Linked DNA regions of Homo sapiens: all the other regions are linked to region 1. The links are contacts of gene promoters, found by promoter capture Hi-C in blood cells and fetal thymus (Javierre and others, 2016). All regions are on one chromosome and are shown on one strand. Each heading gives the region's core, a stretch centred on a gene start or on the middle of the fragment in contact. The rest is flanking DNA. Distances are from core to core; before and after follow the strand shown. Region 1 holds the start of MEX3B (mex-3 RNA binding family member B). Region 2 overlaps IL16 (interleukin 16). Region 3 has its middle 84 kb from the start of TMC3. Region 4 overlaps TMC3-AS1 (TMC3 antisense RNA 1). Region 5 holds the start of RAMAC (RNA guanine-7 methyltransferase activating subunit). Region 6 overlaps TMC3-AS1 (TMC3 antisense RNA 1). Region 7 has its middle 100 kb from the start of TMC3.

Region 1 (2,700 bases), core at 35-2,534:
TCCCTGGGAGATCCGGGAGGGGGCGCAGCTCGCCGTCCTCGCCGGCAAGTGCCGTCGCAACCTCCCTCTGCCGCCACCCCCACCCCGAGAAGCGCACAAAGAGCGGCCGGGCAGGGAGCGCTCACCTCCCGTCGGGGCGGGGCCGCGGGCGGGGCCGGCGCGCGCTCCGCAGCGCCCGCCTTAAAGGGCCCGCCCGCTCCTCGCGCGCACTGCGCATGCTCGGCCGCGGGGCACGGAGGGGAGGGATGGGAACAGCGGGCGCGCACGCCCGCGCCGCCCGCTGGCGCTGTGGCCTGCGTCCCCGCGGTGGCGGCGCGGCGCTCGTGCGCGTGTCAGAACCCGCAGGGTCTCGGCCCGGGCGCCGGGCGTGTGCTGGACACTGGTGCCATGCATTCCAGAGGTCGCCAGCGGCCGGGCGGGCCGAGCTCGCGCGGCAGCCAGCTTTTAGCTTTCCCATCCTCAGTTTCAGGGCCAGTTGGGCGAAGTGCTGCCCAAGGAGACAGAAATGCAGGCGCGGGCGCGCGCGCGCGCGGTTGCCAGTGTGGGCGGGCGTGTGCTTTTGTGTCTCGTGCGCTCCCGCGCAGGTGGACAACCCGCGCCGGGAGTCACTCTGCCCGTGCGCCCCAAGACCTGGAGTCCCGTTTTCCGTGTCGGAGGGCTCGGGTCGCCCTTTTGGGCGGACTACAGACTCTTCTCACAGAGGAAGCTTTGGCTCCACGGATGGTTTATTTGGAGCCACTAACGGGACTTCCTGAGGACCGCTCTTTTAGAGCCCGGCTCCAGGCATCAGAGTTGGGCGCGTTTTCTTTTCTCAGTCAGGCGAGGGAGGAGACTTAGGGACAATGATTGTCCTCGGCTGATAGGTACATCCAAGTGTCCCGAGCCTGCCAGTCCCGCATTAGACAACAAAGAGAGGCGTTAGCGGCGGCGGGGGAGGGGCGCGGCCGGGAGGAGGACGGGGCGGGCTGCGGCGAGCGCGGGGGTGGGGGGTGGCGCTCTCTCTCCGCTCGCTCAACCCGCGGCCTCCTCCCGCCCCCGGCCTGGCGCGCGCCAATCGCCTCCCCCAGCGATAGTGTCAGTAGCATTGTGGTGTCAGCTCCCGCCTGTGACGTTGCGCCTCCCTCGTCCCCCTCCGGAGTCGTCTGGCTGCAGAGGCTCAGTCAAGAGGCGGGGAGGAGAGGAGGAAAAAGCGCTGAGTGAGGGCGGGCGGGCGGGCGGGAGGGAGGGAGTGGAGGAGCCGGGGAGGGGCTCCTTAAAGAAACGCTTCTGTCGCTCGCCTGCTCGCTTTTCGCTCGGCATTGCGGCCAGCCAGCCGGGCACTCGGGGGGCACGCGCGGCCACCGCTAGAGCTCTGCCCCCACCCCACCCGCCAGCAGGTCTGGGGTGGGGACCCAGGTGGGGGCTCCTGCAGCCACTGCCCGGTGCGGACCGCACGGAGCGACCCACTCCTCCCAGCACCGAGGAAGAAGCAACGGAGCCCTCAGCAGGCGACCGGCCTCCCCGCCCCTGACCACCCGCTTCCCGGCTGCCTTTGTGGCCGCAGCTTCTCGCCGCCGAGCCGAGGGCCGGCGGGGGCGCGGCGCGCACGGCCGAGCGATGCCCAGCTCGCTGTTCGCAGACCTGGAGCGCAACGGCAGCGGCGGCGGCGGCGGCGGCAGCAGCGGAGGGGGAGAGACCCTGGATGACCAAAGAGCCCTGCAGCTCGCGCTCGACCAGCTCTCCCTGCTGGGGCTGGACAGTGACGAGGGCGCCTCTCTGTACGACAGCGAGCCGCGCAAGAAGAGCGTGAACATGACCGAGTGCGTGCCAGTACCCAGTTCTGAGCATGTCGCCGAGATCGTGGGGCGGCAAGGTAGGTCGAGGAGGGATGGGGAGGTGGGTGGGGGTGGTGTAGGGTCTCAGGCCACTGCCTCGAGGGGAAGGCGTGTTCAGTATCGGGATCCGCGGCGTGGGGTGCCTTGGGGAGAGAGGAAGAGCCGCGCGATGGGCCGGCGCCCCAGACAAAGAAAGTGCAGGCAGGCTGTCTCCCGGAGCCGCGCCGCTGCCCTGGCGGGATGCACTTTCTTCTGCTAAAATCACTGCCTTCTCCCCTAACGCCCCCCAACCAGCCCACCTCCAGAAAGACAATTTAAATGTAAGATGCTTGGGGGAGGGGGCCTTTGATCAGTCCTTTGGGAGGAGGAAGGAGGAGGAGTGAGCATAGGATGGGAGGAGGATTCTGGATTTCTGCAAAGCGGAATGGAGCCCAGAGGAGGAACAATGGGTCCCGGGACTCACACCCCACCCCCTACCCCCAGTCGACCAGCGCTGAGGCATCGCGACTTCAGCTGCCTTCCCCGAGCCCCTTCCCCGTGTCTTCAGAGCTGACGGCGCGCCCAGCTGGATCCCAGCGGCATCTCCCCAGATGACTTTTCTGGGATTCTCGGGTTTGGTTCGGGACGACTGCAGTCACTGGGGGAGGGCCAGGCAGCCAATGGGCTGTTCCTCGAGCGCCTCGCGGGTGGGATCCGCTGCCCAGCCCGTGGCGCGGCCCGAGGTCAGTGAGGGAGACGCCCCCTTTCCGCCCATCTCTTGTCCTGCCGTCTCGCTGTCCTGGACGCGGGCTGTCCCCGGTCCCCGCGGTTACCCCAGGATAATGGGCGTGTCTGTCTCTCTCTCCCACTCCCTCCTCCGCACCCTGGTTCGTAGGTTGTAAAATCA
Region 2 (2,907 bases), core at 118-2,617, 780 kb after region 1:
TAGTAGCCACATTTAAAAAGTGAAAAGAAACAGGAGAGATTAATTTTAATAATATATTTTATTTGGTCTGTTATATCTATTGTTCTTTCAACATATAAATAATATGTAAAATTATTAGTGAGATATTTTACATCCTTTTCTTCTTGCACTTAGTCTTTGAATCCAGTGGGTCTTTGATACTTTCTGCACATTCTGTTTGAATAAGTCACATTTCAAGTGCTCAAGACTACATGTGGCTAATGTGTTGGGCAGTTCCGTTCTAGAGGCCAGGAGAGGGGCAGGGTTTGCCTAGTATCCTGAGGGCCAAGTGAGGCTCGAGTGAATGGACAGGCTTTTGTGAAAAATTCCCCTAGAGGAAAAGGTAAGATTGGTGGTAGTTCAAAGGAAACACAGGATGGAGCAGGGTTGGGTTTGCTTTTATTTTCAGGATGGGAAAGACTTAAGCTTATTTATAGGCTGAAGAGAGGAAGCCACTGGCCAGGGTAGCTTGAGAAGAAAAGAGGAGTGGTATCTCTGAGGGTGTGAGATCCCTAAAAGGGGATGAGGAAAGGAACAAAGACAAGGTGAAGAAGGGAGAGGTTTTGGTCCATCGGGGCCCAGAGAGTGGCTGGGGAAACCTGCCCCTGCAAGAACAGCTGCTCCCAGCAGCTGCTTCAGCGCAAGTAGGTGGCCCTCTCTGAGTTACAGGGACCAACTGCTCCCAGATGGACCAGGAGGGAGAGGAAGCCAGAAGATTCAGAAAACCACACGCTGCAAAGAGAGGACACAGAATCAAGAAAGGGGGGTGAGAGGAGAGGCTAGACATCCTCTAGTGCTAACTCTGCCTGTGCATTATATTTATCCGGAGTGTTTAATAGAAAGGTAGATTTCAGTGCTCCACCCAACCTATTGATCCATATCTGCACGTTTCGGGTCTGGGGAAACCTGTATGTTTGTCAGCCTGTGCAGATGATGCAGGTGGCTCGTCATTTGTCCTTTGGGAACCCTGCTGGAGTTACTCCTTCCTCTATCAGTGAGGAAATGGAAGCCCAGAGGGTTCCGGATCAGTGAAGAAACAGTCTGAGGCATGACCTCAGCCTCCAGAATCCCAGTCTCCCTGCATTCTCTCCATCCACAGCAGTGCAAGGGTGACCTGTGACTTGAAGGTGGCCAGTGGTGCATGCTTTGGGTTCAGAGGGAATGAGGATGAACAAACAGGCTGCCAACTTGGAATGGTTCACAGAGCAGATCAACCTGACCTCAGAGCCACAGGAGAGCCCAGTGCAACTGCTCAGGCCACACCCAGCTCCACTTGTGTGGGGGTTCCAGTTCCCACTAGACATTCAGATCTGTGGGGACGCAGACCAGAGTCAGGACAGAGTGGGTTCTCCAAAACTCTCCCTGGTCTGGGGTCGATTTCTGTGCCCACTTCGGCCCACTGTTTCAGAACATTGCTTGTTGACGCACTCCAGCCAACTAGGAAATGTACCAAAATTATCATCTCCATTGGGGGAAGTTTAAACCAGTTAAGTGTAGAGTATTAAGTGAGTTAACTGAAAGCTGGTTATTACAACCCAATGCAAAAAAAAAAAAAACAAAAAAAAATAGTTTTTGAAAGGGGAGCTATATATTGTCATGATTATATACAAAAAAGCTATATTAGAGCTACATATTGTCATGAGTTTATAAAGTTATGTTGAATTACAAAATGGAAAAATCCATGGAAAAGGGATGAATAACACCAAGCTAACTTCTTCATCTTTCATGAGGGGGACAATTTGGAAAATGTTATGTCAGATATTAATTAATTGATTAAACTTAATTGGGTAATTAATTAAAACTTAAGGAAATCAGAAGTAGAGACAATAATTAAATAAACCTTTCACAATCATTATAGCAAGAGGCCAAGAACAAACAAATGGCAAGGAATCATCAAAATAAAAAGCATAAAAAGAGCTAAGTAAAAATAAATATGATCTATAACACTGATTTCAACTATCTGAGCTTCTTTTCTTTTTTTAAAATGGAGTTTCACTCTTGTTGCCCAGGCTAGAGTGCAGTGGCACAATCTCGGCTCACCACAACCTCTGCCTCCCAGGTTTAAGTGATTCTCCTGCCTCAGCCTCCTGAGTAGCTGGGATTACAGGCGTGTGCCACCACTCCCGGCTAATTTTGTATTTTTAGTAGAGACAGGGTTTCTCTATGTTGGTCAGGCTGGTCTCGAACTCCTGACCTCAGGTGATCCACCCACCTCGGCCTCCCAAAGTGCTGGGATTACAGGCGTGAGCCACTGCGCCCGGCCTTAAGCTTCTCTTCTTAAAAAAATTGCCAAATTTGCTTTCAGGGACCTAACTGCATATCGTTTGCATGAGATTAACAAAACAAACAAAAAACGCAAAATAAAAGGAACTGATTGTAAATAAGTGATGCTAGAATAATTCTCTATTCATTTAGAAAAAAAAAATCTACCTAGATTCTTACATCATATCAAACACCAAAAATAAACTACAGATAATACAGTAAATTTGAGGGAAAAAAGATAAATCATTTACAAATTAGAAGTATATATAGTCACAGACTTAATAGTTATCTGAATGTGGAAGTAACTTTCACATTAAAAAAGAAAAGATCAGTAAACTTGATTACATAAAGATTAAAACACCTTAATGTTAAAAAATTAAAATAAAAGCAACGAACTGGAGAAAGTATTTTCAACAAGTATGACGTCAAATATTAATTTAACCAAGAGGCTTTTTATAAATTAATGATAAAAAGATGATTATTTCAGTAAAGAATAGGCAAACTCACCAAAAACAAAATAAATAAATGAAGGAATGTTTAACTTCACCTGTATGAATGTTTAACTTCACCTCTTTTCGGGGGGGCAGGACAGGCTCTCACTCTGTTGCCCAGACCAGAGTGCAGTGG
Region 3 (2,700 bases), core at 77-2,576, 590 kb after region 1:
CCAGTAATCCCCAGAAAAATATATTACAAAAAGGACTTCACCACTGCATGTTATATTCAGAATGTCTAAAGTTGAATTAAAATAAGTAATTTTAAAATTAGCAAGAGAAAAATGTCTAGTCACCTATTCAAAAAAAAAAAAAAAAAAAACCCCACCCCATCAGGCTAACAGTGGACTTTTCAGCAGAACCTCACAGGTAAGGAGAGAATACAATAGTATTTTCAAAGCACTGAAAGAAAAGGACTGCCAGCCAAGGATTTTATATCCTCCCAAAATAAGCTTCATAAATAAAGGAGAAATACAGTTGTTTCCTGACAAGCAAACACTGAGGGAATTTCTCATCACTAGCCTGGCCCTAAAGGAAATGCTCAAAGGGGTCATAAACATGGAAATGAAAGGTTGATATTCACCATCATGAAAACACACGAAAATATAAAACTCATAGTTCTTATAAAACAAGGAGGAAAAGAAAGGAATCAAATGGCAACAGAACAGAGTTTCATCAAACCACAAAGACAAAAAAAGAAAACGAAACAAAGAATTTTTAAAACCAAGTTGAAAACAACAATGTGACAGGAACAAAGCTTCACATATTAATATTAACCTTTAATGTAAATGAATTAAATGCTCCACTAAAAAAATACAGATTGGCTAAATGAATTTTTTGAACGATCCAGCTATATGCTACATACAAGAAACTCACCTTACCTTTAAAGGCACATAGATGGAAAAAAAAAAACTCAGAGGTGGAGAAAGATATTCTATGCAAATGAAAACCAAAACTGAGCAGGAGTCACTATACTTACTAGATAAAAGAGACTTTAAATCAAAAACAGTTTTTTTAAACAGACAAAAAGGTCATTATATAATGATAAAGGAATCAATTCAGCAAGAGCAAATAACAATCCTAAATATATATGCACCCAACATTGAAGCACCCAAATTCACAAAGCAAATATTATTAGACCTAAGTAATGAGATAAACAGCAATACAATGATAGTGAGTGACTTAAACACCCTATTCACAGCACTAGACACATCATCAAGACAGAAAACTAATTTTGAAAATTGGACTTTAGACCAAATGAACCTAATAGACATTTAGAGAACATTCTTCCCAACAGCTACAGAATATTCTTTTCACTAGCACATTGAACATTCTCTAAGATAGACTGCATCTTATAGGCCACAATGCAGGTCTTAACAAATGTTTAAAAACTGAAATAATATCAAGTAACTTCTCAGACCACAGTGGAATAAAGCTAGTAATCAATGCCAAGAAGAACTTCAGAAACTATACAAATATCTGGAAATTAAACAGCATGCTCCTGAACAATGACTGGGTCAATGAAGAAATTAATGTGAAAATTTAAAGATTTTTTTGAGATGAATAAAAATGAAAATACAACATACCTAACCCTGTAGGATATAGCCAAGGGAGTGCAAAGAGAGAAATTTATAGCATTAGATGCCTACATCAAAAAATTAGAAAGATTACAAATTAACAGCCCAACATTACACCTCAAGAAATAGATTAAAAAGAACACACCAAACCCAAAGTTAGCAAAAGAAAAGAAATAACAATGATGAGAGTGTAACTAAATAAAAGAGACCCCCTCAAAAATACAAAGGATGAACAAAACAAAAAGTTGGTTCTTTGAAAAGATAAGCAATATTGAGAAACCACTAGCTAGATTAACCAAGAATAGAGATGATCCAAACAAACAAAATCACATATGAAAAAGGAGACATCCCAACCGATACTATAAAAATACAAAAATAATCAGAGATTATTATGTACAATTATAGGCTCACAAACTAGAAAACCCAGAGGAAGCAGATAAACTCATGGAAACACACAACCTACTGAGATTGAATGAGGAAAAAACACAGCCCCTGAACAAACTAAAATCAGTAGCAAGATGGAATTGTGTCTGGAGTTGGTTCCTTCCAGTGGGTTCATGATCTGGCTGACTTCAAGAATGGAGGCAGACCTTCACGGTGTTACAGCTCACAGACCCAAGAGCAGTAGCAAGGTTTATTGTGAAGAGCGAAAGAACAAAGCTTCCACAGCATGGAACCGGACCTGAGTGGTTTGCCGCTGGCTGGCTGGGATGGCCAGCTCCATTCCCTTATTTGTCCCCTCCCATGTCCTGTTTCTGTCCTATCAGAATGCCCTTTTCTCAATCCTCCCCGCGATTGGCTTCTTTTAGACTCCTGCTGATTGGTGCATTTTACAGCGTGCTGATTGGTCCATTTTACAGAGTACTGATTGGTGCATTTTACAGAGTGCTGATTGGTGCATTTTACAAACCTCTTGCTAGCTACAGAGCACTGATTGGTGCGTTTTTACAGAGCGCTGATTGGTGCATTTTACAAACTTCTTGCTAGCTACAGAGTGCTGATTGGTGCATTTTACAAACCCCTTGTAAGACAGAAAAGTTCTCCAAGTCCCCACTCCACGGAGGAAGTCCAGCTGGCTTCACTTCTCACAATCACAAATTAAAAAATCTTCCAATAAGTAAAAGCCTGAGACCCGATGCATTCACAGCTGAATTCTATCAAACACACAAACAAGAACTAATACTTATCCCCTTGAAACTAGCCCAAAAAAATCAAGTGGAAGGGAGTTATCCCTAACTCATTTTACAAGGCCATTATCATTCTGATACCAAAATCGGACAAAGGTACAACAAAAAA
Region 4 (2,700 bases), core at 156-2,655, 640 kb after region 1:
GAAACCAGCAACGTGCACAGAATGATTGAAAGAAAAATTAGAGAAAAAAAAGATTACACAGTCTATTAGGAAAGGAATACCAAAATAAATTTGCTAAGTCAGAGATATAACTAGTTAATGTTTTGCATCTCCATTAGACAAAAATCTACAAGTTAACACGTGACTTCAGAGTCTTGGCTTTAATTAACAGAAAGTAGTTAATCAACAAGAGTCCATCTTTTAAAAAATGAAATAATGCTTGATGGGCCTGATAGATGCTGGTCTGGTATATGATATTGAAAGCACGAGCAATCTTCTTTTGCTTTATTTCTACATTTTGGATAATTTTTAAACAATAGCATTTGTTGTAATCTATCATGTGCCATTGCTATGATGTGGTGTCCAACAGTATGATCTGACTAGAATTGCAAAGATTAATTGATTATTTTCCCAGGTACAATACTTATCATTGGTTTTGTGGCTAACCCTGCAAGCTTCTTGGTAGTGGAATAACTTGTAGTTCTTTTTGCTGTGAGAAGTAGAACTCTAAAAGGTGCCTCCCTAGTTTATTTTTTCCATCTTTTCATCCTCCTCCTCCTCCTTTTTCTTTTTTTTTAAACAAACTTTTTATTTTGGAGTAGATTTACATTTACAGAAAAATTAAGGAACTAGTACAGAGAGATCCTGTGTACCCCACACAGTTTCCTCTGTTAGTAACATCTTATATTAATATGGTATATTTGTCACAATTAATGAACCAATATAGATACATTGTCATTAACCAAAGTCCATACTTCATTTAGATTGCTTTAGTTTATACCTAATGTCCTTTTTCTCTCCCAAGATCTTATTCAGGATACCATACTACATTTAATTGTCCTGTTTCCTTCGACTCCTCTTGGCCTTGAAAGTCTCTGAGTTTCCTCGGTTTTGATTACCTTGACACTTTTGAGGAGTGTTGGTCAGGTATTTTTGTAGAATATTCATCAATTTGTATTTGTCTAATGTTTTTCTCATTAGACTGGGATTATGGGGTAGGAGAGGAGGATCACAGGTACAGTGCCATTTTCATGATATCAAGGATACATACCATCAACATGACTGGTCATTGTTGATGTTGACCTTGGTCACCTGGCTGAGGTAGTTTGCCAGTCTTCTCCACTGTAAAGTTACTCTTCTCCCTCTATTTTCCACACTGTACTCTTTGGAAGGAAGTCAGTATATGCAGCCCACACGTAAGGAATGCGAATCATGCTCACTTTTCTTGAATGCAAATTATCTGTATTAGTCAGGGTTCTATAGAGAATCGGAACCAATAGGATGTATGTGTGTGTATATGTGGAGAGAAGGATTTATTATAAGGAATTGGCTCATGCAATTCTGGAGGCCAGGAAGTCAAAAATCTGCAGTGTGGGTTGTCAGGCTCAAGACTCAGGTAAGCCAAGAATATAGATGAAGTCCAAAGGCAGTCCACTGAAGAATTCCTTCCTGCTTGGGGAGGGCAGTCTTTTGGTTTGATTCATGGTTCGACTAATTGGATGAGACCCACCCATATAATGGAGGACAATCTGCTTTACTCAAAGTGCACCCATTTAAATGCTAATCACATCTGAAAACATCCTCCAAGTTAGCACACAAAATTAACCCTCACAGTATCTGCATAAATTATTTGAAATTCTTCTGCACTGGAGATTTGGCTATTCTTCTCCATTTATTTATTTATGCAGTCATTTTGTTTATATCAGTGTAGACCCATCAATATTTATTTTATATATTGGGTTATAATTCAGTACCACTTTGTTTATTTTGTTGCACAGCTTGTTCTGCCTTTGGCCATTGGGAGCTTTCTGTCAGTTCCTGTATCCTTGGCATAGGCCCATCAGTGTCAGTTTTTCTGTGCATTTCCTTATTACTAGCATTGCAAGATGTTTCTCCTCCATCCTTAGAATCATCCATTGCTCCAAGGAGCCCTCATTCCTTCTATCAGAGAATGGTATTAGAAACCAGGATCTGAGTTCTAACTTTACTTGCTACTACTTGGGTGTCATTTATTACCTCTAGTTCCTCTCAGCTGACAAAATAGAGAAATACATGTATACACGTATCTATATAACCCATGTACAGATACATCTATAAATATTCATGTACTATTTATATATTAAGCTAAATATGAGTTTATACAGATGTCTCCCACTCTAATCAATTACCCATGGATTATTCTAGCCTCCTCCCTTTGCTCGTCTGTAACTTCCCACTCCAACAGTGAGGAGCCTGGCTCCCACCCTCCATTACACTTCACTACCTCTTCATTTTTTACACTAAAATACATCAACTTTAGGGTGAAAATTACCAAGCTTATTTTAGAAAAACTCATTTGGCTCACCAAAGAGATGCTATACCTTATTTTTCACAAACCCTTGAAAGATTTCACAATGCCATTTTGAAAAACTTTGTAACAGAACACAATGGGACTGGTGGGTGAATGGATCAATGTTTATCAATACAATCTAATTTTCAGATGCTCATTCTTTTATTTCTTTAGTTCTTCTAAAAGAATGAAGACAACAATGTGACAGCATTTCAGCTGGTGACATCATTTCTCTTGTATCTTCATTTCTCTCAGCATATACAGATCAACCTCTGTCTTCACAGGTGCTCTATTTATTATTTACATCTAGTGTATTTTTCTGATTTGTAGTATATTCATTAAATTTTTAATCA
Region 5 (2,759 bases), core at 127-2,626, 940 kb before region 1:
AGAAATCACTAAAAAGATGACCCATACCTAATCCAGATGGGCAGTAAAAATCATAAGGCAAGGAAAAGGTGCTACTCCATTTTTATGTTCTCATATGTTCTCCCACGACTCCCCACCCATACTCATGTAAACAAATATCAACTGTATTATTACTGAGAACGAAATTTAAATAGAATGTTAATCGACCCAAGCTTTACTTACCCCAAAGGTTTGAGGCAGCTGTACTGCTTAATGTTTAGGTTGTTTAAATCTGTGGGAGGAAAAAAACAAACTTGACTTTATTTAAGGAAACTCTCAAAAGGTGTTTGTAGGGGAGGGTGGCGCATAAGAGTCTTATTCAAGGAAAGAATTGGAGTAAAAGTGCTCTAAGGCCAGGCGCGGTGGCTCACCTCTGTAATCCCAACACTTTGGGAGGCCGAGGCGGGCAGATCACGAAGTCAAGAGATCGAGACCAGCCTGGCTAACACGGTGAAACCTCGTCTCTCCTAAAAATAGAAAAAATTAGCCAGGCGTGGTGGCATGTGCCTGTAGTCCCAGCTACTCGGGAGGCTGAGGCAGGAGAATCGCTTGAACTTGGGAGGCGGAGATCGCGCCACTGCACTCCAGCCTGGGCGACAGAGCGAGACTCCGTCTCAAAAAAAAAACAAAAAACAAACCAAAAAAACGCTCTAAAGACTTCCAAAGCTAATATTCCAAAGAGGGAACTGGTTCTCAAGAGCAAGAAGCTACAAGATTTGTCCTCTGGGCCTTCAAAAGCAAAATAGTTCAAGTATGAATACAAACTTCATAAAGTATGTATGTTCTTTTAGGGTAAGCCTTTCAGATTTGTACTTGAATACTGCTAATTTATTCACCACAAATAAAACCACAAAGAACTTTGGCTGCGGGCGACTAACCCTGGAAATAACCAACCAGAATGGGGTTTCGCTGCCCTGGGAGGTGAGCCCGGGGAACAGACGAAGATGCAGACTGAAAACAACTGCGTTTTCCAGTCCGTCCTCAAGGCACATCACAGCTTGCTTACCAAGGTTCTGGCAGATTTGCTCCCTTCCGAAGCACCTTATACCTCCAGAAGTGAGGGAAATTATGGGCCGTGAGAAGTAAACGGGCTTCGGTCTAGCAAAGAGTACAGATCACCGCACAGGGGGAGGACACCTCGCTGGCCACCCAGCTCGGCCGCCCCGCTCCCTCCTCCCGGGCGTCCGGGGCGACTCACCCGCCAAGGGCTATGTCAATCCAGCTCAGGCCGAACCCCGCCGGCGAGACACTGAGAAGCCCAGGAGAGGTGGCCTCTGGTCCACTACACCGTGGAACTCCAGACCACTCCAGTTCTCCAATGTAACCGAGCGCCTTCCTCTAAAATCCGACAACCACCTGACTTCCGCTTCCGGCGGGCTAAAGTTGAGGGTGCCTGTCAAGTCTCGCGATAACTAAGGCTCTCCGTGTGGATCGCTTTGCAACAGATCGCTTCTTCAAATGCTGGCACAACGCCCAGAGCTCGATGAGGTGTGGGCAAGTAGCTGTCTAAAGGTGGATGATGCCCTCCATGCACTTTCAGCCTGCCTGGTGGCTGGGCAGTCGAAAACGTCGCCGTCTATTAAGCTCCTTTGATTGGGAGCAGGTGACGGGTAGAGACGGAAGTTCTGGGAATCACCGGAGAAGGGAGGGAAGGGCTCCTTCCGGCCGCCTGCTCCCGGAGTCTTCGTGGGGAACGTGAGGTGAGAGCAGGCGGTGAAGAGTAGACACGACTGATGACTTCAGGGATGCTACACCTTTCTCTCCTGCCTGGGCAAGCCTCGGTAGTAAGATTTCCGTAGTCCGTTTTGTATGTGGTTTTGCAGAAACATACCCCCTCTCTGCTCCAGCTTCAGTCGTCAGTATCCAGCTACTTCCAAGAGTCTTGCCCATGTCTTGTGGGATGTTCAGCAAATGTATAAACACTTAATATCCCGACAAAGCTTGGCCTCTTCCCTCCCAAATTACTTCCCAGGCTATGCACCCGTTTTTGTTAATACAACCAACTTGGAAACTTTGATGTCAGATTTGATGCCCTTTCTTGCCTTTCCATGCTCCAATCACTTGCCAAGTCCTGTCGATTGTACCCCTACAGTAATTCTTGCATCTTCTTACCCACTGCCCCCACCTAATCAACGTTCTCATTACCATCCCCTGCACGGTGTCAGTGCAGTACCTTTCTCATTGATGTCCTGCCTCTAGCATCACTCTGCTACTAGCCTATCTTACATATACCTGCTATAGGTGTAGCCATCTTCAAGCACCACCGTGATCCAAAATAGCTGATCCAATGGCTCTCTGTTGCCTGTAGATTAAAGGTCAAGTTTATTAACTTGGATTCAAAACTTTTTTTATTTTCTGCTGTTCCCCTTCCATTCTCCCTCAGTCAGTGGTAAACCAGACCCTGTGAAGTACGTCATGCATAAATTATTACATTTTTATAGATTGCTCATGTCCCTTGCATGAAATACCTGTCTCTCCCCCTCATCTCCAAATGTTGAAATTCTTTCCATTATTTAAAGCTTTAGAAAGTGACATCTCTACCTAGAAATAATTTTTCTTTCTATTGAGAGTCCATCATATTTCTGGAATTTCATGTATTTAGTTATTACCACTTTCTAACTTCGAACTAAAATTATTTACTTGCAAGTCTTTCCCCCTATTAAACTGTAAACAGGCCTTTATCTAATGCATTTCTACATTCTGGAGTGTATAACATTGTGCTTTTTTTGTTTGTTTGTTTG
Region 6 (3,006 bases), core at 81-2,580, 620 kb after region 1:
CATTTGAAAGTTTAAGTAAAAGAATAATGTTCATTTTTCAAAGCTCACTCTGGTTGCTCTGTGAGGGCTACATGGTGAAGGAATGGAGTGGAAGCAAATAGGCTGGTTAGGAGGCTGTTGGGTTGGTGTGGATGGAAGATGATGGTAGTTGTGACCGGGCTTATCAGCGAGCATGATGAGGATCGGCAGAATTCTGGTTGTATCTTTTATTTTTGAGATGGAACGATTAGGATTTGATGATGAATTAAATATCGGGTCTGAGGTCAAGGGAGGAACCAGAGATAAATACTATGGCAAAATAGAAGAACCCCTGCCCTCCCTACTCCTCTTCTCATAACGGAAAAATTGACACAAGATATTGGAAATTCACTGAGTGTGGTGACTCATGCCTGTAATCTCAGCTACTTGGGAGGCTGAGGTGGGAGGATCAATTGAGGCCATGAGTTTGAGATCAGCCTGAGCAATACAGCGAGACCTTATCACTAAAAAGAAAAAGAAAATAGGCATCAGAAATTCACCATAGCAGCCAAATAAATGTCCCACTCCAGTGCAATGCAAAACATGTCCAATTTAACGAAAATCAATAATGAACTTTTCTATAAGAAAACCATCTAGCCAATTGACAAATATTTTTGAATATATATATATACACACACACATACATATACATATACATATATATATATATATATATATATATATATATAAAGATTATTAAGGATAGTTAAAGGATTCCCCTCAGATCCCAACAGTGGAATGTAAATGAATCAATATAATCAAAAGGAAATTTGAAATTTTATTTTTGGTAGCTTTCATAATATACCTTTTCTTCACCAATTCTATGTCTTGGAAAATATTGTAAGGAAATAACCAAATATGGAATTAGACTTACGTTCAAAAACATTAACTATAATGATAATGAAGGGAAATTAGAAATAATGTAAATATCCAATGATAGAAAATGACTAAATATATTACGGTACAGCCATTTATGCTGTCATTAAAATCATATTTTGGAATCTTTTTTGTCACTATCAAGTCATCATGATGTAAATAAAATGGAGTTCAAAAGCATGATAAAAAATGCTACATGGATAATGGATAAACATGTATGAATGCAAATAACAGAAAGTAGAAAGTTAAAAGGTTAATAATGGTTTTCTCAGAGAGGTCAGATGATAGATTATTATTTCCAAAATCTCAACAATGAACATGTATTACTTATATAATCAATAAAATTATACAACTTTTGCAAGCCCTAAGAAGTCCATAGAACTTTCTGGGATCCAATATGTGCCCCTTTGTGTCAAGATATGACAGTTGCGACCAGACCTGGAAATTTTTATGGACCCCCGAAGATAATTCTGCTTGTTGCCTGATTTTACCTCTCTGAACTTAGTGATGTTGGCAGGGTTCCTCTAGGAGTCGCTTAAAGTCATTTTGGGTTTGGATTTTTTTCTTATTTGCCTTACCTTATAGATTATCTTAGTTCAGGCTGCTATAACAAGTTGCCATAGACTGGGTTGCTTAAACAACAAACGTTATTTCTTACAGTTCTAGAGGCTGAGGAGTCCAAGATCAAGGTGCTGGCAGATCTGGTGTCTGGTGAGCATCCTCTTCCTGATTTGCAGATGATGCCATCTCATTGGATTCTCATATGGCGGAAAGAGGGCAAGAGAGACAGCCCTCTTGGGTCCCTTTTCTAAGAGCACTAATCCCACTCATGGGGGCTCTGCCCTTGTGACCTAATTATCTCTTAAAGCCCCACCTACAAATATCTTCACATCGGAAGTTAGGATTTCAACATATGAATTTGGGGAAGCATAGATATTCAGTCCTCAAAACATATTGCTTGGCCTTTCCCTTCATCTGGTCCTGGCTGCACAAAATTGTGCTGAAATTTCTTGACATTGGAGGCATGTTTTCTTCTGCTGTTAAAATACTTCCTCCTTGCAATGCTCCTTTCATGATTTAAGTAGTAATGTGTGAAAGGTGGAGTCAATTCGCTGTGTACAGATCATTTCGCACACAGGCTTTTAGTGGCCTAGCCTCTCTGGCTCCCACTTTGCCAGATTTTCTCACATTCCAGGAGGAAAAAGACAGAAGAGGAGCCTTCTAGGTCACAGAGCCTGAAGAACAGCAGAGCATCATTTCAGGGAGATCGAACACACTTGTTTTTACCATTCTCTCTTCTGTTATCTCACCAAACCAAGGCACCCTTTTCTCAAAATGTGGGAAATGAATGAAACCAAATATGCACTAACAAACTTCTGTGAGCTGATCGTATTTAGCCAAGCACAAAAGCACATGTACAGATGATTAATTGGTGCCCAAACTCAAAATGGAGACCAAATTTTCAACCCATTCTGGGTGCAAAGTCTGACTTAAAGATTCGTGCATATGAGATCAGCAAGTTTTTTCCAAAAATAATCATGTCCACAGATTCCTATCATCATTGTATTGATTCTCAAATTTTATTTAATTTAATTTTATTAAAGTCCTTAATGAAAAACTTTTCTTGCACAATCATTATATCTCTTATGGCTCTTGGGTGGCTTTGAAGGAAAAATAATACTATGAAAAGATGGTTGCTGAAGGGTAATTTAATCAGCATTCTCATAAATTATAGAACTTTTCTGTCTCCTTTGCATAGAGGGAAAAGTCTTAGGGCAGAAAGAGTGTCTTCCATATTTTAATTTGATTTCCAGGCCTAATTATATTTTGCTTAAACTCAACACACTCGTGATTTTACAAGGACGACAATCTTGTGGGATGAAATAAAGCTTTGTAAAACTTCTGCATTTACTTTTCTTTGCTGGAAATTGAATTCTCACTATAATCAAGGATACAGTCCACAAAGAGAACTTATTTAATTTCTATGTTAAATCAAAGACAATGTAAAGCTGATAAATTTACTACAGTCTCTTTGAAAAAAAAAAAAAGTGTAGCCAGAAAAATTACCAAGTATGAGCAACAGAATTTTAAAAAGCCAGTTTCTATCAATTT
Region 7 (2,700 bases), core at 195-2,694, 570 kb after region 1:
GTATTGTGCTACGTACCCTTCTAGAGTTATATCCATTAATCTAAAATAGTTATACATCTACTGAATGTTGCTAAATGAGAAGAGATCTTCTACAGACTGCTATATAATTTATTTTACTGAAGTATAATTTAATAAATTGAATGACTACAAATTACTTAACAAACCTGCTATGATTGAACAATTTGCTCTGCTTTTCAGTTACTGTCCCCTCACAATGCATGAAAGACTTTGTGTAGCAGAGCCTTACGGTTAATTTTTGACCTAATTATTTCCTTGGGAAAGCTTCCTAGAAGCAGAATTGCTAGATCAAAGAAAATGCACACGTTTAAGACTTTTGAGATACACTGAAAAACCTGAGTTTCAGACAGTGTAGAGTTATTTGCATTTCTTCTAAAAGTGAATAAGATTGCCCATTTCTCCTAGTGCCATGAAGGCATTCACATTATTTTCCATGTGATATGGGCAAATGTTATTTTTCATATTTTAGTTTCCATAATTTTTGTTCAGGTCAAATATTTATATGTTTATTTGAATTCATCTTTGGAGAAACTTCTCTTTAAAGTCTTTACCGATTTGTCCATTGTGTTTTTATATTTTTATTGATTTGAAAGAGCCCTTTACATGTTAAAGACAATAACCTCTTAGCCAGTTTATTTCTCTCTAAATTCTTTTCATGATGGCTTTGATAACAAAATAATTTTTGGTTCAATTAATCTAAACCACTTTTCTTTGTGATTTCTGCCTTTGATGTCATTCATAAATAGACCTTTCCTAATTAGCCTGTATTTTCATCTACTACTTTCATACTTTTATTTTTGAAAGTTAAATCTTAGCATATTTACTATCTAATTTGGTATAACACATAAGCTAGATTCTATGTTCTTTTTTCCCCCAAATGTTTAAGCCAATTGATTCAATGGCATTTACTAAATAATCTTTATTCTTTCTCAGGAATTTGAACTCACACCTTTTTCATCTGCTAGGTTTACATTATGTGCTTGTCTATTTTCTGGATTTTAATTCTATCTATTTCTGTGCTGGTTTCATAGTGGTTAAATTATTTTAACTTCATCTTCTATTTCTATTTGTAACTCAAATTTATTACTCTTCCTTTTGTACTATTTTCAATCATTTTTCTTTGAGATAAAGTTTTGTTTTTCTTTATTTTCAATTTCCAAAACAAGTCATTTAAAAATTTTAAAGCTGTGTTCAAATTATAGATATACTTGGGATGGACTGAGAACATTAAATTATCTTCTCAAGCAAAATTTCCATTTATTCTGATTTTCCCACTCCTCAGTAAATGTTCATATATATATATATATATATATATATATATAAACAATATTGACAGTAAATGTTAACATATATGTGAGCATAAAAATATATGACCTGCCTATTTTCTGTCAATATTGTTTCAAGATTTTTTATGCTTCTAATATGAATGGAATCCTTCTTCCATTATACTTTTCAATCGCATATTACTGATATATAGAAAATGTATTCTTTTGTACTTGTTATATTTTTGTGTTTGTTTTATAATTTTCCCTTTATTGAAATTTTCATCAGTTATAATTGACTTTATATTATTTTTAGTTTTTATGCAAATGATATCATCTGCAAAAAATGTGATTTTTTTTCATCTATTAAATATTTTATCTTGTTCATTTCCCTTGTCTGATCACAAGGGACTAAAATCCCAAACCCATGTTAAGTAATAATAGTAACAGGAGATATTTATAACTTGTTCTTAATTTTAGTGGCTATTCCTCATACAGTTCACTTTCAAGCATGAAGTTGACTCGATTTGAGATATTTATGCTATGAAGGAAGCATCCTTTCATTCCTATTTTATCAAGAACTTTTAACCAAAATAAATGGCTGAGTTTTATCAAAATATTTTTTGTGGGGTGGGATGGTAATGTCTATCAGGCTAATTCCATTACTGTTCATCTGTGACTTTTATTTCTTTTGGCTTCATGTTTAAATGTTCCTGTCTTCATAAAATGCAACCTATGTAATCATGGCATTTTTTTCTTTTCATGAACTCTAAACCCATGTGATAACATTTTATTTAGAATTTTTCTTATCTTTTTTACATTTAAATCTTTAATCCATTTGGAATTTGCTGTAAGATATGAAGTACCCTTTTTTTTTTTACAAAAATATTTAGCCAATTGTCCACACACTAGTTATCAAAAGCCAAATTTCCAAAATACCACATTTATCATGGAATAATGTGATTTGATTGTCTCAGTCAGCTCAGGGTGCCATAACAAAATACCATAGACTGGGTGGCTCCATAGACTGGGTGGCTTAAACCACAGAAATGTACTTTCTCCCAGTTCTGCAGGCTGGAAGTCTGAGGTCAGGATGCTACCATGGTCGGGTTCTGGTGGGGGCTCCTCTTGGCTTGCAGATGGTTACTTTCCCTCTGCGTCCTCATATGGGAGAAGAGACTGAGAGACTGAGAGATCTCTGTCTTCCTCTTCTTGTAAGGACATGGATCCTATTGGATTAGGGCCCCACCCTTATGATCTCATTTTACCTTAATTACATCCTAAAGACTCTCTCTCCAGATATAGTCACTGGGGGCTAAAGCTTCAACATATACATTCTCGGAGGACACAGTTCAGCCCCTAGCAATGATGTGCCTGGATACAACGTACAGAGAATTGAGTTAAGCAAACCCTTCAGTAC

Evidence for each region. Contacts are between HindIII fragments. The CHiCAGO score rates a contact against its expected background, and 5 or more counts as called.
Region 2: a fragment that was not itself captured here is called in contact with the fragment with the promoter of MEX3B in region 1 in 1 of 17 cell types (fetal thymus); the score reaches 5.1 in fetal thymus.
Region 3: a fragment that was not itself captured here is called in contact with the fragment with the promoter of MEX3B in region 1 in 1 of 17 cell types (megakaryocytes); the score reaches 7.3 in megakaryocytes.
Region 4: a contact is called between a fragment that was not itself captured here and the fragment with the promoter of MEX3B in region 1, in 6 of 17 cell types (fetal thymus, megakaryocytes, M1 macrophages and 3 more). The highest score is 13.2, in fetal thymus.
Region 5: the fragment with the promoter of RAMAC here is called in contact with the fragment with the promoter of MEX3B in region 1 in 1 of 17 cell types (activated CD4 T cells); the score reaches 6.4 in activated CD4 T cells.
Region 6: a fragment that was not itself captured here is called in contact with the fragment with the promoter of MEX3B in region 1 in 3 of 17 cell types (fetal thymus, megakaryocytes and M2 macrophages); the score reaches 8.7 in fetal thymus.
Region 7: a fragment that was not itself captured here is called in contact with the fragment with the promoter of MEX3B in region 1 in 9 of 17 cell types (megakaryocytes, M2 macrophages, M1 macrophages and 6 more); the score reaches 14.8 in megakaryocytes.

Annotation. Positions count from the first base shown.
Region 1 is chr15:82,044,602-82,047,301 of GRCh38, reverse strand. MEX3B (mex-3 RNA binding family member B) reads left to right here and starts at 1,284. Exons shown (of 2, transcript NM_032246.6): 1 at 1,284-1,852; 2 at 2,689-2,700. The coding sequence starts at 1,597. RefSeq lists silencers at 35-354, 1,205-1,504 and an enhancer at 35-981. The HindIII fragment of the contact is 3,768 bases long and covers 709-2,700 here.
Region 2 is chr15:81,262,024-81,264,930 of GRCh38, reverse strand. The region is part of intron 3 of IL16 (interleukin 16); the gene reads right to left. Among named protein-coding and RNA genes, the nearest start is that of STARD5, 61 kb to the left of the region's middle. The HindIII fragment of the contact is 1,842 bases long and covers 447-2,288 here.
Region 3 is chr15:81,456,613-81,459,312 of GRCh38, reverse strand. No RefSeq gene overlaps it. Among named protein-coding and RNA genes, the nearest start is that of TMC3, 84 kb to the right of the region's middle. The HindIII fragment of the contact is 1,480 bases long and covers 587-2,066 here.
Region 4 is chr15:81,404,046-81,406,745 of GRCh38, reverse strand. The region is part of intron 6 of TMC3-AS1 (TMC3 antisense RNA 1); the gene reads right to left. Among named protein-coding and RNA genes, the nearest start is that of TMC3, 31 kb to the right of the region's middle. The HindIII fragment of the contact is 1,860 bases long and covers 476-2,335 here.
Region 5 is chr15:82,984,827-82,987,585 of GRCh38, reverse strand. It overlaps RAMAC (RNA guanine-7 methyltransferase activating subunit), which reads right to left and starts at 1,376. Exons shown (of 4, transcript NM_031452.4): 1 at 1,217-1,376; 2 at 202-250. It also overlaps a transcript of HOMER2 not described here. The HindIII fragment of the contact is 1,767 bases long and covers 194-1,960 here.
Region 6 is chr15:81,421,872-81,424,877 of GRCh38, reverse strand. The region is part of intron 6 of TMC3-AS1 (TMC3 antisense RNA 1); the gene reads right to left. Among named protein-coding and RNA genes, the nearest start is that of TMC3, 49 kb to the right of the region's middle. The HindIII fragment of the contact is 2,911 bases long and covers 1-2,785 here.
Region 7 is chr15:81,475,307-81,478,006 of GRCh38, reverse strand. No RefSeq gene overlaps it. Among named protein-coding and RNA genes, the nearest start is that of TMC3, 100 kb to the right of the region's middle. The HindIII fragment of the contact is 2,319 bases long and covers 285-2,603 here.